Regions from separate parts of the Homo sapiens genome. Here regions 2 and 3 are each linked to region 1. The links are contacts of gene promoters, found by promoter capture Hi-C in blood cells and fetal thymus (Javierre and others, 2016). All regions are on one chromosome and are shown on one strand. The core of a region is centred on a gene start or on the middle of the fragment in contact, and the rest is flanking DNA. Distances in the headings are between cores, read along the strand shown. Region 1 holds the start of CIDEC (cell death inducing DFFA like effector c). Region 2 holds the start of FANCD2OS (FANCD2 opposite strand). Region 3 holds the start of CPNE9 (copine family member 9).

Region 1 (4,089 bases), core at 767-3,266:
TGGTGTAAGCAGCAGCATTAATATCACCCAGGGACTTCTTGGCAGTGCAAAATCTCGGGTCCCACTCCAGACCTCCTGAATCAGAATCTGCACTTGAACAAGGTCCCCTGTGACCTGTATACCCATTAAAGTTTGAGAAGTTCTGGCTTACAGCTCATAGGTGGCTCTCTTTCCATTCTGCCCATGACTTTCCTCACCTGGAGAGGGACTTGGGGTAGAGAAGGCTAAGGGACTTCATGGCGTATTCCATCCTTGTCAGCTGGACTGCGTTGGACCTGGGAAGGAGGCAGAAACAATTCATCAGGGTGAGATGAGAGGGTTCCCATCTCTCTCATTGTTAGGCAAGGTGCAACCCAACCCCTGTTCAGCAACCTTCCTCCCTATTCTTCTATCCCAACTCACACATACCTCCCCCAGCCCTTCTCCTGTCCGGCCCCATGCATGCCAACCAAGACCAAGCTGGAGACCCCACCCCTCTCCCCACCGGGTGCTCAGGCTCAGCCTCACTCAGCAGCTGCTGCTCCTGCCCCAGTCCCACTCACTCCATGTTTCTCATCCCCTGGCTCTGGTCACACTGAGCAGATAACCCAACTCAGGGCTGAAGAAGCCTTGCCCGATTTGTTCCTGTCCATGGGGACAGAGTCCACTTTACGCTGGCAGGAGGTGAGTCACACCACCTCACACTTCTGGGGACCGTTCCCTCACCTCTAGTCCAGAGACCTCACAGGCAGGCAGCCCAGTCAAAGCCTCCTCTCTCCCATGGGTCCTTGAGCAATCCGAGCCCCTTCCTGAGGCTTCACAGTGGCCAAAAGAACATTCTGTGATGATAGAGGCATGCCTTGTACATACTCTCCAATACCATTGCTACTAGCCCCATGTGGCTATTGAGTATTTGAAACATAACTAGTGTGATTCAGGAGCTGAATTTTTTTTTTTTTTGAGTTTCGCTCTTGTCACCCAGGCTGGAGTGCAATGGGGCGATCTTGCTCACTACAACCTCCGCCTCCTGGGTTCAAGCAATTATCCTGCCTCAGCCTCCCCCGTAGCTGGGATTACAGGCACCTGCCACCACGCCCAGCTAATTTTTAGTTTAGTTTCGTTTTGTTTGGATTTTTAGTAGAGACTGGGTTTCACCATGTTGGCTAGGCTGGTCTTGAACTCCTGACCTCAGGTGATCTCCCTGTCTTGGCCTCCCAAAGTGCGGGGATTACAGGCGTGAGCCACTGCACCTGGCACAGGAGCTGTATTTTTTACTTTATTGAATTTTAACTAATTTAAATTTAAATAGCCACATTGCCATGTGGCTGTTGGCACCCATATTAGATCACAGGTCTAAGCAGATAGCCCTGGGCTCATCTGTCACCACTTTTTCTCCTAAACCTCTGTGCTCCAACTCTTGAAGGGCCCAACCCTTTGCACAGATAGTTCCCTCCACCTGTAGTGCCCTTCTCTGATCCAGGACGAAATTTTTGCAGCCTTGAAGCCTCAGTTTCATTGCTTTCCACTCTTTAAAAGGAAAGTCTTCTTAGACCACTCCCAAAATTATTACACCTTCATCCTGCTCTTCCTAGCCAAGGGTGCCTCTGGGTCTGTTTCTGCTGTAGCCCCTCAGTCCCTGGATGCCTGGCCCTGAGGTCCTCTTCCTATTCGAAGCTCCCGGCACAGGTAGGGCTTCGCAGAGCAAGGGGCACAAGGGGTGGACATAAAACAAAAGTCCCCTTGCCAGCTGGGGACAATCACTCTTTGCTTTTAACAATTTGGGGGACTTTCCAGACCAGGCCCCACAGAGGCAGAAAGCCCCTTTCCCACTTAGCACTGCAGAAGCTCTAGTCCTAGCTACGTGGGAGGCTGAGGCAGGAGGATTCTGCTTGCCTCAGCCTCACCCACTTCGTATCCCTAGCAAAACTCTGCCAAGAGCTACCTAACCTGCTCTCCAGGAGCAAAGAAAAAAAAATCCCCAAACCCAAAACAATAACAAACTCCTTACCTCCCCCTCACAGCCTCCTGGAAATACTGCCCTGTCCCGCCCAGCCCTCCCTTCATTTATTTCCAGCCCCCATGAAGCTCCTCCCCAGCCTTCAGCCCCAGCTGGGGAAAAGAGCTTGGGGTGAGAGCTGCAAGCCAGCCTGACTTCCAGAAAAGGCCTAAAAGGAGGGGAGAAGGCATGTTTCGAAAGCTTTGGCAAAATGGATGGCCCATGACATGAGATCAAGCACAGAGGGCACAGAAAGCAGGCAGATGTGGGTTGTGGTCCCAACTCCACCCCATATCAGCTTGCTTGAGCTTAGACAGATCACTTGACTTCTGTGAGCCCGTTTCTCTTCTCTGTGTAATGACGATAATGATTCTTGTTTTATAGGGTAGTGGTGAGGATTAGTGACAATAAAAGTAAAGGGGCACAGTGGCTCATGCCTATAATCCCAGTGTTTTGGGAGGCTGAGGCGGGAGGATTGCTTGAGGACAGGGGTTGGAGGACAGCCTGGGCAATAGAGTGAGACCCTGTCTCTGAAAAAAAAAAAAAAAAAGAAAAGAAAAGAAAAAAGAAAAAAGTAGCCTGGGTGCCGTGGCTCACGCCTGTAATCCCAGCACTTTGGGAGGCCGAGGCAGGTGGATCACTTGAGGTCAGGAGTTTGAGACCAGCATGGCCAACATGGTGAAGCCCCGTCTCTACTAAAAATAGAAAAATGAGCCAGGCGTGGTGGTGTGTGCCTGTAATCCCAGCTATCTGGGAGGCTGAGGCAGGAGAATCGCTTGAGCCTGGGAGGCAGAGGTTGCGGTGAGCTTAGATCACACCACTGCACTCCATTCTGGGTGACAGAGTGAGACCCTGTCTCAAAAAAAAAAAAAAAAAAAAAAAAGTCCGGGCACGGTGGCTCACACCTCTAATCCCAGAACTTTGGGAGGCCGAGGTGGGCAGATCACAAGGTCAAGAGTTCGAGACCAGCTTGGTCAATATGGCGAAAACCCCATCTCTACTAAATATACAAAAATTAGCCGTGCGTGGTGGTGGGTGCCTGAAATCCCAGCTACTCAGGAGGCTGAGGCAGGAGAATCATTTGAACCCGGGAGGCAGAGGTTGCAGTGAGCCGAGATCACGCCACTGCACTCCAGCCTGGGTGACAGAGTGAGACTCTGTCTCAAAAAAATAAAAATAAATAAAAATAAAGGCTTTGCAAACATAAACACTCAATGGATCGAAGTGATTATTAGTATTACTGATAATTTTTTATTTTTATTTTATTATTTTTAATTTTTTTGTCTTTTTCTCAATTTGATAATGTACATATTAAATCATAGCAGAGAGTAAGACAAGCTGAAATGTGGAGTGGTTAAGAGTGTAAGATCTCTGACCCAGCAGTTCCACTTCTGTGTGTGTGCGTGTGGTGTATGTGTGTCATACAGAGCACACCTGTTGTCCCAGCTGCTCAGAAGGAGGCTGATGCAGGAGGATCACTTGAGCCCAGGAATTAAAATTTAGCCTGAGTAACATAGGGAGACCCTGTCTTTACAAAAGAAAAGAAACAAAACCAAAACCAAACAAAATTACATATATATGTGTATATATATACACACACACATATATATATACACATACATATCCAAAAGAAATGAAAAATATGTCTACACAAAAACTTGTATGTGAATATCCATAGGATTATTCGTAATAGCCAAAAGGTAGAAACACATGAATGTTCAATTTATAAATCGATTTTTTAAATGTGCCTATCCATACATGGCATATTATTTATCAAAAAGGATCCATACTACCACATGGAGGAACCTTGCAAACAGTACAGAAAGTAGACAAAGCCAGTCACAGGAATCATATACATATTGTATGATTCCACTTATATGAAATGTCTAGAATAGGCAAATCTATATAAAGACAAAGTAGGGCCGGGCGCGGTGGCTCACGCCTGTAATCTCAGCACTTTGGGAGGCTGAGGTGGGCGGATCACGAGGTCAGAAGATCGAGACCATCCTGGCTAACACGGTGAAACCCGGTCTCTACTAAAAATACAAAAAATTAGCCGGGCGTGGTGGCGGGCGCCTGTAGTCCCAGCTACTCGGGAGGCTGAGGCAGGAGAA
Region 2 (4,089 bases), core at 585-3,084, 230 kb after region 1:
TAATTTTTTTTAGCACGTACCTATTTTGTTAGTGGGCATAGCAGGTCCCTTTTCTTTCTAGCCAAGTGTATTTCTCTGCCCCTTCTTCTCCCACAGAAGATAGCAGCAGATCTCATCCTATCCAGTAATTGCCCCAGAAATACTGTGAAAATTTTGACACCTTCACCGCCGTTTGTGAGATAGAAAAGTTCGTTTTAAAAAAAGAACTGTTGGCCGGGCACAGTGGCTCACACCTGTAATCCCAGCACTTTGGGAGGCCGAGGTGGGTGGATCACTTGAGGTCAGGAGTTCAAGACCAGCCTGGCCAACAGGGTGAAACCCCGTCTCTACTAAAAATACAAAAATTAGCCAGGCGTGGTGGTGGGTGCCTGTAATCCCGGGTACTCAGGAGGCCGAAGCAGGAGAATCACTTGAATGGAGGCTGCGGTGAGCCGGGATCAAGCCATTGAACTCCAGCTTGGGTGACAGAGGGAGACTCCGTCTCAAAAAAGAAAAAAACGTTGGTGACATTTCAGACCAGAAGACCTGCTCCTGACAATGGTTAGTATAGGGGGATTTGTTGATTTTCTCCAACTAGTATGTTTCTCATGATCTATGTAGGCTCTTTGCAAAGTACTAAGTGTTCAAATATCTGGGCTGCCTTAGAATGAGAAAGGGACACCCAAGGGACAGTTATCTATTCCAAACACCCTGTGAAAGGCTTCTGGTGCTTGATATCTTGACCTTCAGAGCACATATCCAAGAGAGGGACTACTGTGGTACACCACCATGGCAAGGTGGGCGGAGGGTATGAATGCTGTCAAGCATATTTTTAATCCCAGAATATGGGATTTAAAAAAGTATTTAATCCCAGGATCCTTTTCTTTCTTTCTTTCTTTTTTTTTTGAGACAGAGCCTTGCTCTGTCACTCAGTCTGGAGTGCAGTGGCGCGATCTCCGCTCACTGCAAGCTCCGCCTCCCGGGTTCACGCCATTCTCCTGCCTCAGCCTCCCGTAGCTGGGACTACAGGCGCCTGCCACCACGCCCGGCTAATTTTTTTGTATTTTCAGTAGAGACAGGGTTTCACCGTGTTAGCCAGGATGGTCTCGATCTCCTGACCTCGTGATCCGCCCGTCTCGGCCTCCCAAAGTGCTGGGATTACAGGCGTGAGCCACCGGGCCCGGGCCCCCCGGATCCTTTTCTTGCCACATCTTCTAAGAGGAAGTAGAGGTAGAAGTAAAAGTCTTTGTCAAATGTCCAGCCTAGGTCGCGGCGCGGTGGCTCAGGCCTGCAATCACAGCACTTTGGGAGGCCAAGGCGGGCCAATCACTTGAGGTCAGGAGTCAGCCTAAATATTCGGCAGAACCAACATGGGACGAGAGCGCTTCTAAACCTAGGTCCCTGCACCTCTTCGCACAAAGTTTAAAGATGGTTCACCCCATCCCCACCGCCCAGAAGTCACTGTCAACCACTCCAGAAGGGCTTGAACCTACAAAGTCTGCTCAAGCTGCTCAATAGCTCCCAGATATGGAACACCTGATTCTCCTGGCCAAAAAGGTTTCCCCTTCACACCCCACTTCCCATTCCAAGGAACCCCATCTCTTGATTTCCCCACCTGGGAAACAGGGCGTTAGCGCCAAAGTGCAGCTGAGGTCCTGAACTGTAAACGGAGATCCCGAGGGTCTGGAGCTGCCGAGAGTGCGAGAGGCTCCCACTCCCCGCCGGAAGAAGGGGCTTGGGCCTCCTGGGTCCCTATCCGGGGGCGGGGACCAGAAGGTTCTGGCTGAGGCGGACGATGCGGTGGGAACCTGGGCCCAGTCCCACCATCCGGGCCCGGGGCTCACCTGCTGAACTCTGAGGGTCTCACGCTCCAAAGTGGCGGCCGCTGTTCGTGGCGCCTGGCAACCGCCTTTGTGACCCAGGACGGCAGGGCAGCCCGAGCCGCGGCGGGGATGGGGGCTCGAGGCGCCCTACTGGGAGGCGTCAGGGCCACACTCCCCGCCCCCACCTCATTGGAATGCCTTGTCCAGGACTTGGCCTTCAGGAGGGCTGGTCCGAATCCTGTCCCCTCCATTGTCCTCCTCCCTACCGTGCCACACCTGTGTACCTGTGTGCCTTTGATCAAGCCACAGAGGACAGGCGACCCCTACTTCAATGGCCATGGTCAGAGGCCTGCATAAAAGTCCCAGGACCTGTAGTTAGTGTTAAAAGTTAGTCCCAACTCATCACACTCTGCTCAGTGGGTGCTCAGGCAGAGTGACCCAGAGCTCTGTCAGGTTTTGTTGCTCTATTTGAATGATCCCAGTGGCAAAGAAAGAGAATTAATAAATGTTCACCTGTCAAGAGCAGGAGGAAACGCACGTCTTTCCTTGATTTCCTGACAGAAAACCTTTCTCAGCCTTGCGTTAAACCTGAGAGTACCTGTAATCCCAGCTATCTAGGTGGCTGAGATGGGTAGACTGCTTGAGCCCAGGAGTTCAAGACCAGTCTGGGCAACGTAGTGAGATTCCCAGCTCAAAAAGAAAACAAAAAAATCTCAAAAAGAATGATTTTGTCTCATTCTTATAATGCAGAAATACACTTTCGCCATATTAGTGAAGGAGTGATTTGACAACTTTGTAATCATCACTTAAAATAATGACCCTGGATGGCTGAGGGAAGGGAGGAGTCTACCCAGCTGATGTCTGTATTCCCAGTACCTGGCTATTGCCATGTCTGGCAGTGTGCAGTATTTGTGGGAGGAAGTAACTAATGGCCTACTTGGCCTTCCCTTGTACACCCAGAATTGCCCTTGCATTTTACAAACTATAGAACACACACCACAAATAAGACTTGTCACCTTTGTTCTGGTTTTTTGGGTAAAGCTGATGGAGAAAGACTGAGGGTCTGAGAATAGAGTCAGGCAAGATCCTGATTTAGAAGACACACACCCACTGTGTGTACATGTGCACCTTTTGGAAGAAGAGGTAAGTGGAGAAGAGTCTGGAGGGCATGTCGGGTCAGAACATGAAGAGAGAGGCACAGAATAGTGAGACTTGGAAGAGACACAAATGATTTTGAATTACAAAACTTTTTTCCCCAGTTAGTTCATTTTTATTTCCCTCTTTTTTTTTCTTTCTTTTTTTGAGACGGAGTCTCACCGTGTCACCCAGGCTGGAGTGCAGTGGCTTGATCTTGGGTCACTGCAACCTTCACCTCCTGGGTTCAAGCGATTCTCCTGTCTCAGCCTCCCGAGTAGCTGGGATTACAGGCGCGTGCCACCAGGCCCAGCTAATTTTTGTGTTTTTAGTAGAGACGGGGTTTCCCATGTTGGCCAGGCAGGTCTCGAACTCCTGACCTCGTGACCTGTGCACCTCGGCCTCCCAATGTGGTGGGATTACAGGCGTGAGCCACCACACTGGCTTTATTTCCCTCTTGAATAAAAAAGACTTTTTTTTTTGAGATGGAGTCTCACTCTGTCACCCAGACTGGAGTGCAGTGGCGTGATCTCCACTCATTGCAAGCTCTGCCTCCCGGGTTCACACCATTCTCCTGCCTCAGCCTCCTGAGTAGCTGGGACTACAGGCACCAGCCACCACGCCCGGCTAATTTTTTTGTATTTTTAGTAGAGACGGGGTTCACTATGTTGGCGAGGATGGTCTCGAACTCCTGACCTCGTGATCCGCCCGCCTCGGCCTCCCAAAGTGCTGGGATTACAGGCTTGAGCCACCGAGCCCGGCTGACATTTTTATTTTAAAAGAAAACAGTCGTTTTCATTTAGGTTTTAATTGCACAGTGGTTTTTGTTTTGTTTTGTTTTTTAAATGAAAGTCCTCAATGCAAAATTGTATGTTTAAAAATTATTGGATAGATAGAGCTTCATACTGTTATAAGAATTTGGGCTGGGTGCAGTGGCTCACGCCTGCAATCCTAACACTTTGGGAGGCCGAGGCGGGTGGATCACCTGAGGTCACAAGTTCAAGACCAGCCTGGCCAACGTGGTGAAATCCCATCTCTACTAAAAATACAAAAATTAGCCAGGCGTGATGGTGGGCGCCTGTAATCCCAGCTACTCGGGAGGCTGAGGCAGGAGAATCGCTTGAACCCGGGAGGCGGAGGTTGCAGTGAGCCG
Region 3 (4,089 bases), core at 1,084-3,583, 180 kb before region 1:
CAATAGAGTGAGACCTTGTCTCAAGAAAAAAAAAAAAAAGGTTAGTGTCCCAGTAAAAGCTCCTGCTCTAGGTGGGAACAGTAGCCTGAGGGCTTAGAGGAATGGTTTAAGGGAAAACAGGGCCAGATATTTGGGGCCTGAACCACAAGGATAGCATGGCCGTAGGACAGACACTGGCCTTGTACAGTCAGAAGAAGCACAAGGACAGGTGGTATGGAGGGAGGGAGGATGAGGATACTGGGTCCTGTCCCAGGGTAATGTCTTTGTTCTTTCTCTTGACCTCCCCATAGGCTTGCAGCCCTGAGTGATCGAGAGACTCGGCTGCAGGAGGTGCGCTCAGCCTTCTTGGCTGCGTACAGCAGCACAGTGGGGCTTCGGGCAGTAGCCCCCAGTCCTTCCGGTGCCATCGGGGGCCTGCTGGAGCAATTTGCCCGTGGTGTTGGACTCCGGAGCATCAGCAGCAATGCCTTGTGAAGAAGCCAGCCCATGACATTTTCCTGCTCCTCTCTCAGCTGAGCCCTTAGCAGAGAATCAAAGCCATGCCTGGCCGAAGGGGTACTTCCAGGTCAGGGGAAATTTCAGTCCCCCATCTCCATCATGAACATGGCAGCCCCAAAGCTGAGCAAGGCCAAAGACAGGGTTTTCCAACCCCCAGCCTCTTGACTGGTGACCACCACCCCTTCTTGTCACTGTCTCCCACCCACCCCATCTTTGCTGGGATTCCCATCAACTCTCAGAACTGTGTGGGGTTTCCCTGGGGCCTTGTGGAAGCCATGACTTCACAAAGACCCTACCTGTCAGTTCTTGTTTCTGGGGAGGAGGGATCACCTGCACTGAGAATGAGGCAGTTTGACACAGATCACAAAATAAAATCAAAGTCTTTTTGAATAGCCACTCTTGTGTCATCATTTGGTTATTGTCTTTGTGGAGCTACTAGGAAGGTTCTCATTGTCCTTCCTTGTGCTGGACAAGGGGTTTTTATGTGGAGGGCAGGTGAAACAGGAAGAGAACTGGCGACAGGTATACCTCTCCACTCATGAGCCATGGTAGTCCCTGCAGTGGGGACAACACTCAAGACTGTTGAGAGTAGTGGTTCTCGGGCCTAAGCAGGTCCTAGTCACCTAGAGAGCCTGATGAGCTGTGCACATTCCCAGGGCTGCCTGAGCTTTAGCCTTAGGGTTGCTAAGGAAGTTGCCTGGGAATTAGGAGCTGGAGGATCTTCATTTTTTTCAGATTTTTTGAGATGGAGTCTCACTGTTACCCAAGCTGGAGTGCAATGGCACAATCTTGGCTCACTGCAACCCCTGCCTCCTGGGTTCAAGCGATCCTCCTGCCTCAGTCTCCTGAGTAGCTACGTGAACGTGCCACCATCCCCAGCTAATTTTTGTATTTAGTAGAGATGGGGTTTCACCATGTTGGCCAGGCCAGTCTCAAACTCCTGAGCTCAAGTGATCTGCCTGCCTTGGCCTCCTAAAGTGCTGGGATTACAGGCATGAGCCACCGTACCTGACCAGGATCTTCATCTTTAACAAGTTCTGTAGGCAGCAGGGTCCTGGTACGGGTGACCTGCATCCCCTACCTTGAGCCCTGCCTATGGAGGAAGGACTGGCTTCTGAAGCTTTGGAGATAGCAATTGGTGTGCATGTGTGGTGGGTGAGAGCCTGGCTGACCACCACCCTCTTCTACAGTGTAACCTACAGTAGATTGCGTCATGAGAGTGTGTCCGCATCTGTAACGCCATGAAAGTCGTGAGGGTTAAAGGCATGGGCAGACAGCTTTGCACGGTGCTCAACAGCCACCATTTACTGTCATCATTGTGAATACCCAGAGGACAAATCATAAATACCAGTGAATGTTTACTGAGCACTTGCTGTGTGCTAAGTGTTTTCCTTGGGTTATCTCAGTAAAATTTTACAGCACCTAAAGTAGCTGCTGTTAAAGGCCTTTCTGACGGCCTTTCACGGTTGAGCCACAGAGATGTTGAGTAACTTGTCCAAGGTCACACAGCTACTAAGAGATGTACTTTTCCTATTCAGAGACCTAGGCAGGCTGGGAGTGGGAAAAGACAGAAACACTAAGGGAGTGGCTCAGTAAGAGGCAACAATTCCAGTGCCCACCAGGTGCCCCAAATGTTTCAGCATCATGGACAACTCTAGGGGGCTTGGGTTTCCACCCCAGAGACTTGCGCAGGGCAGACTCTACCAAGGTGTGGGTTGGAGTTGGGAGTCGGGGTGAGGTTCCCCGCTGGCTCCAGGCTGCTCCAATGGGGCGGGGGCCGCCCGCAGGGCCGGGCGGGGCTGTGCTGCCATCTGGAGCCGCTGCCGCCGGCGGCCACTGTCAGGGCGCGAGCGGCTGGAGCGCACGCAGGGCTGGAGCGAGTGCAGCCGCCGCCGCCGCCGACACCGCGGCACATGGGCCGGCCCCGCCGCTGCCGTCGCCCCTAGCCCCAGCAGCCCTGGTCTCGCAGCCTCCTGCGGCTCTGGTCGCCCGACCAGCCATGTCTCTCGGCGGAGCCTCCGAGCGCAGCGTCCCGGCCACCAAGATTGAAATTACCGTGTCCTGCCGGTGAGCGGGCCGCGCTGGGGAGGGCTTAGGCACTGGCACTGCCCCAGCCCCAGCCAGCCGCGGGGCTCAGCCTGGGCAGGGGCTAGACCCCCGGGGAGAGGCGAAATTGGCTGGAAAATCACAGCTGATGACAGGGCGAGTAGCTGGTGGGATCGAGAAGCGGGGGGTCTTGGGCAGCCCCACCCCGAAAAAAGGGCTCAGCCTGCGGGTTCAGGGGGTGGGTCGCAGATATCCGGTAGGAGCTCGGCCCCAGGAGGACAAAGTTCTGGGGCGAGCCCTCTTTCCTGGGCCCTTGGAGACAGTGTGGGTGCGTTCGCGTCCAGTCCGCAGAGCCATGGTTCCTGGACAGCGATTTCCGGTGCTGTCCAGAGTGCTGACAGAGCGGACCCCGGCTGGGGGTAGCCATGGGGGACAGAGGTTCGATGCGGGCCCCATGCCTCTCCTCAGTGCCCGGCTCAGAGCCGACTCGAGGCGGGCGGACTCCAGGATGATCCACTCTGTCTGTCTGTTGCTTTTCTCTAGGAACCTGCTAGACCTTGATACCTTCTCCAAGTCCGACCCCAGTAGGCGGCTCCAGGACCGGGAGGGGGAACTTGGGGTCTGGGCGCGACTCAGGGGCGGGTGGAGTCGGGGCCAGGGGTGGGAGCCGACCTGACGTCCTTCCCTCCCCGCCCCCACCTGCAGTGGTGGTGCTTTACACGCAGAGCCGGGCCAGCCAGGAGTGGCGGGAGGTGAGTCCCAGAGCCCCCTCCCGGCCCAGGGCGTCGCCCGGGAATTCCCCTGCCCGTCTGCACGTCCCACGCTGACCCTCCACCCCCCTACCCAGTTCGGACGGACCGAGGTGATTGATAACACGCTGAACCCAGACTTCGTGCGCAAATTCGTCCTCGACTATTTCTTTGAGGAAAAGCAAAATCTGCGCTTCGATGTGTGAGGCCCCGCCTGGAATTCTGGCTTGGCCCGCCCCCGACCTGGATCCGCCCGGAATTCTGGCTGGCCCCACCCCCGCCTCGCCTCCGGCCTGGTTCTTCTCGCAGGCCTCCCTCCCATTCTGAATGGCCCCCTCTAGCCTGAGCCCTGCCCTTTTATGAGATGCGGTCCAGTTCCGTCCCCCGCTCTGGCCCCGCCCACAACTCTGCTCCTATCGCAGCTCCACCTCAGGCCCGACCCCTTCCACACAACCCTGCCCCCAGCAGCCCCTGACTTGGCCTCGGCCCAGGCTTGACCGTCTGACTACTCAGCCCACCCTGACTCCTCCCCAAAAGGAGACCAAAGCTGAATTCGGGTCCACGGCCGCCCATCCCTCCACCCAAAATTTTCACCAAGACTCGGTGCCCGACCCCTTTCCACCCTCTCCCCCACCCAGCCCCACCCCACACCGGTTCCACTCTTTTCCCAGGTACAACGTGGACTCCAAAACCAACATCTCCAAACCGGTGAGCAAACGTTTCCTCGAGGGTTGGCGGAGCGCACAGGAGGCACTTAGATGTGTTCAACGACTCTCAGAACTCCTCCCAACCCTCG

What was found. Contacts are between HindIII fragments. The CHiCAGO score rates a contact against its expected background, and 5 or more counts as called.
Region 2: the fragment with the promoter of FANCD2OS here is called in contact with the fragment with the promoter of CIDEC in region 1 in 5 of 17 cell types (activated CD4 T cells, monocytes, erythroblasts and 2 more); the score reaches 8.8 in activated CD4 T cells.
Region 3: a contact is called between the fragment with the promoter of CPNE9 here and the fragment with the promoter of CIDEC in region 1, in 5 of 17 cell types (monocytes, erythroblasts, neutrophils and 2 more). The highest score is 7.4, in monocytes.

What each region holds. Positions count from the first base shown.
Region 1 is chr3:9,878,237-9,882,325 of GRCh38, forward strand. CIDEC (cell death inducing DFFA like effector c) reads right to left here and starts at 2,017. Exons shown (of 7, transcript NM_001321142.2): 1 at 1,988-2,017; 2 at 706-818; 3 at 198-275. The coding sequence starts at 250. The HindIII fragment of the contact is 5,760 bases long and covers 1-2,174 here.
Region 2 is chr3:10,106,421-10,110,509 of GRCh38, forward strand. It overlaps FANCD2OS (FANCD2 opposite strand), which reads right to left and starts at 1,835. Exons shown (of 2, transcript NM_001164839.2): 1 at 1,595-1,835. The HindIII fragment of the contact is 5,627 bases long and covers 1-4,089 here.
Region 3 is chr3:9,701,500-9,705,588 of GRCh38, forward strand. It overlaps CPNE9 (copine family member 9), which reads left to right and starts at 2,334. Exons shown (of 21, transcript NM_153635.3): 1 at 2,334-2,565; 2 at 3,088-3,128; 3 at 3,250-3,296; 4 at 3,392-3,495; 5 at 3,965-4,001. The coding sequence starts at 2,498. It overlaps MTMR14 (myotubularin related protein 14), which reads left to right. Exons shown (of 19, transcript NM_001077525.3): 19 at 291-894. The coding sequence ends at 474. RefSeq lists an enhancer at 1,973-2,883. The HindIII fragment of the contact is 18,760 bases long and covers 1,617-4,089 here.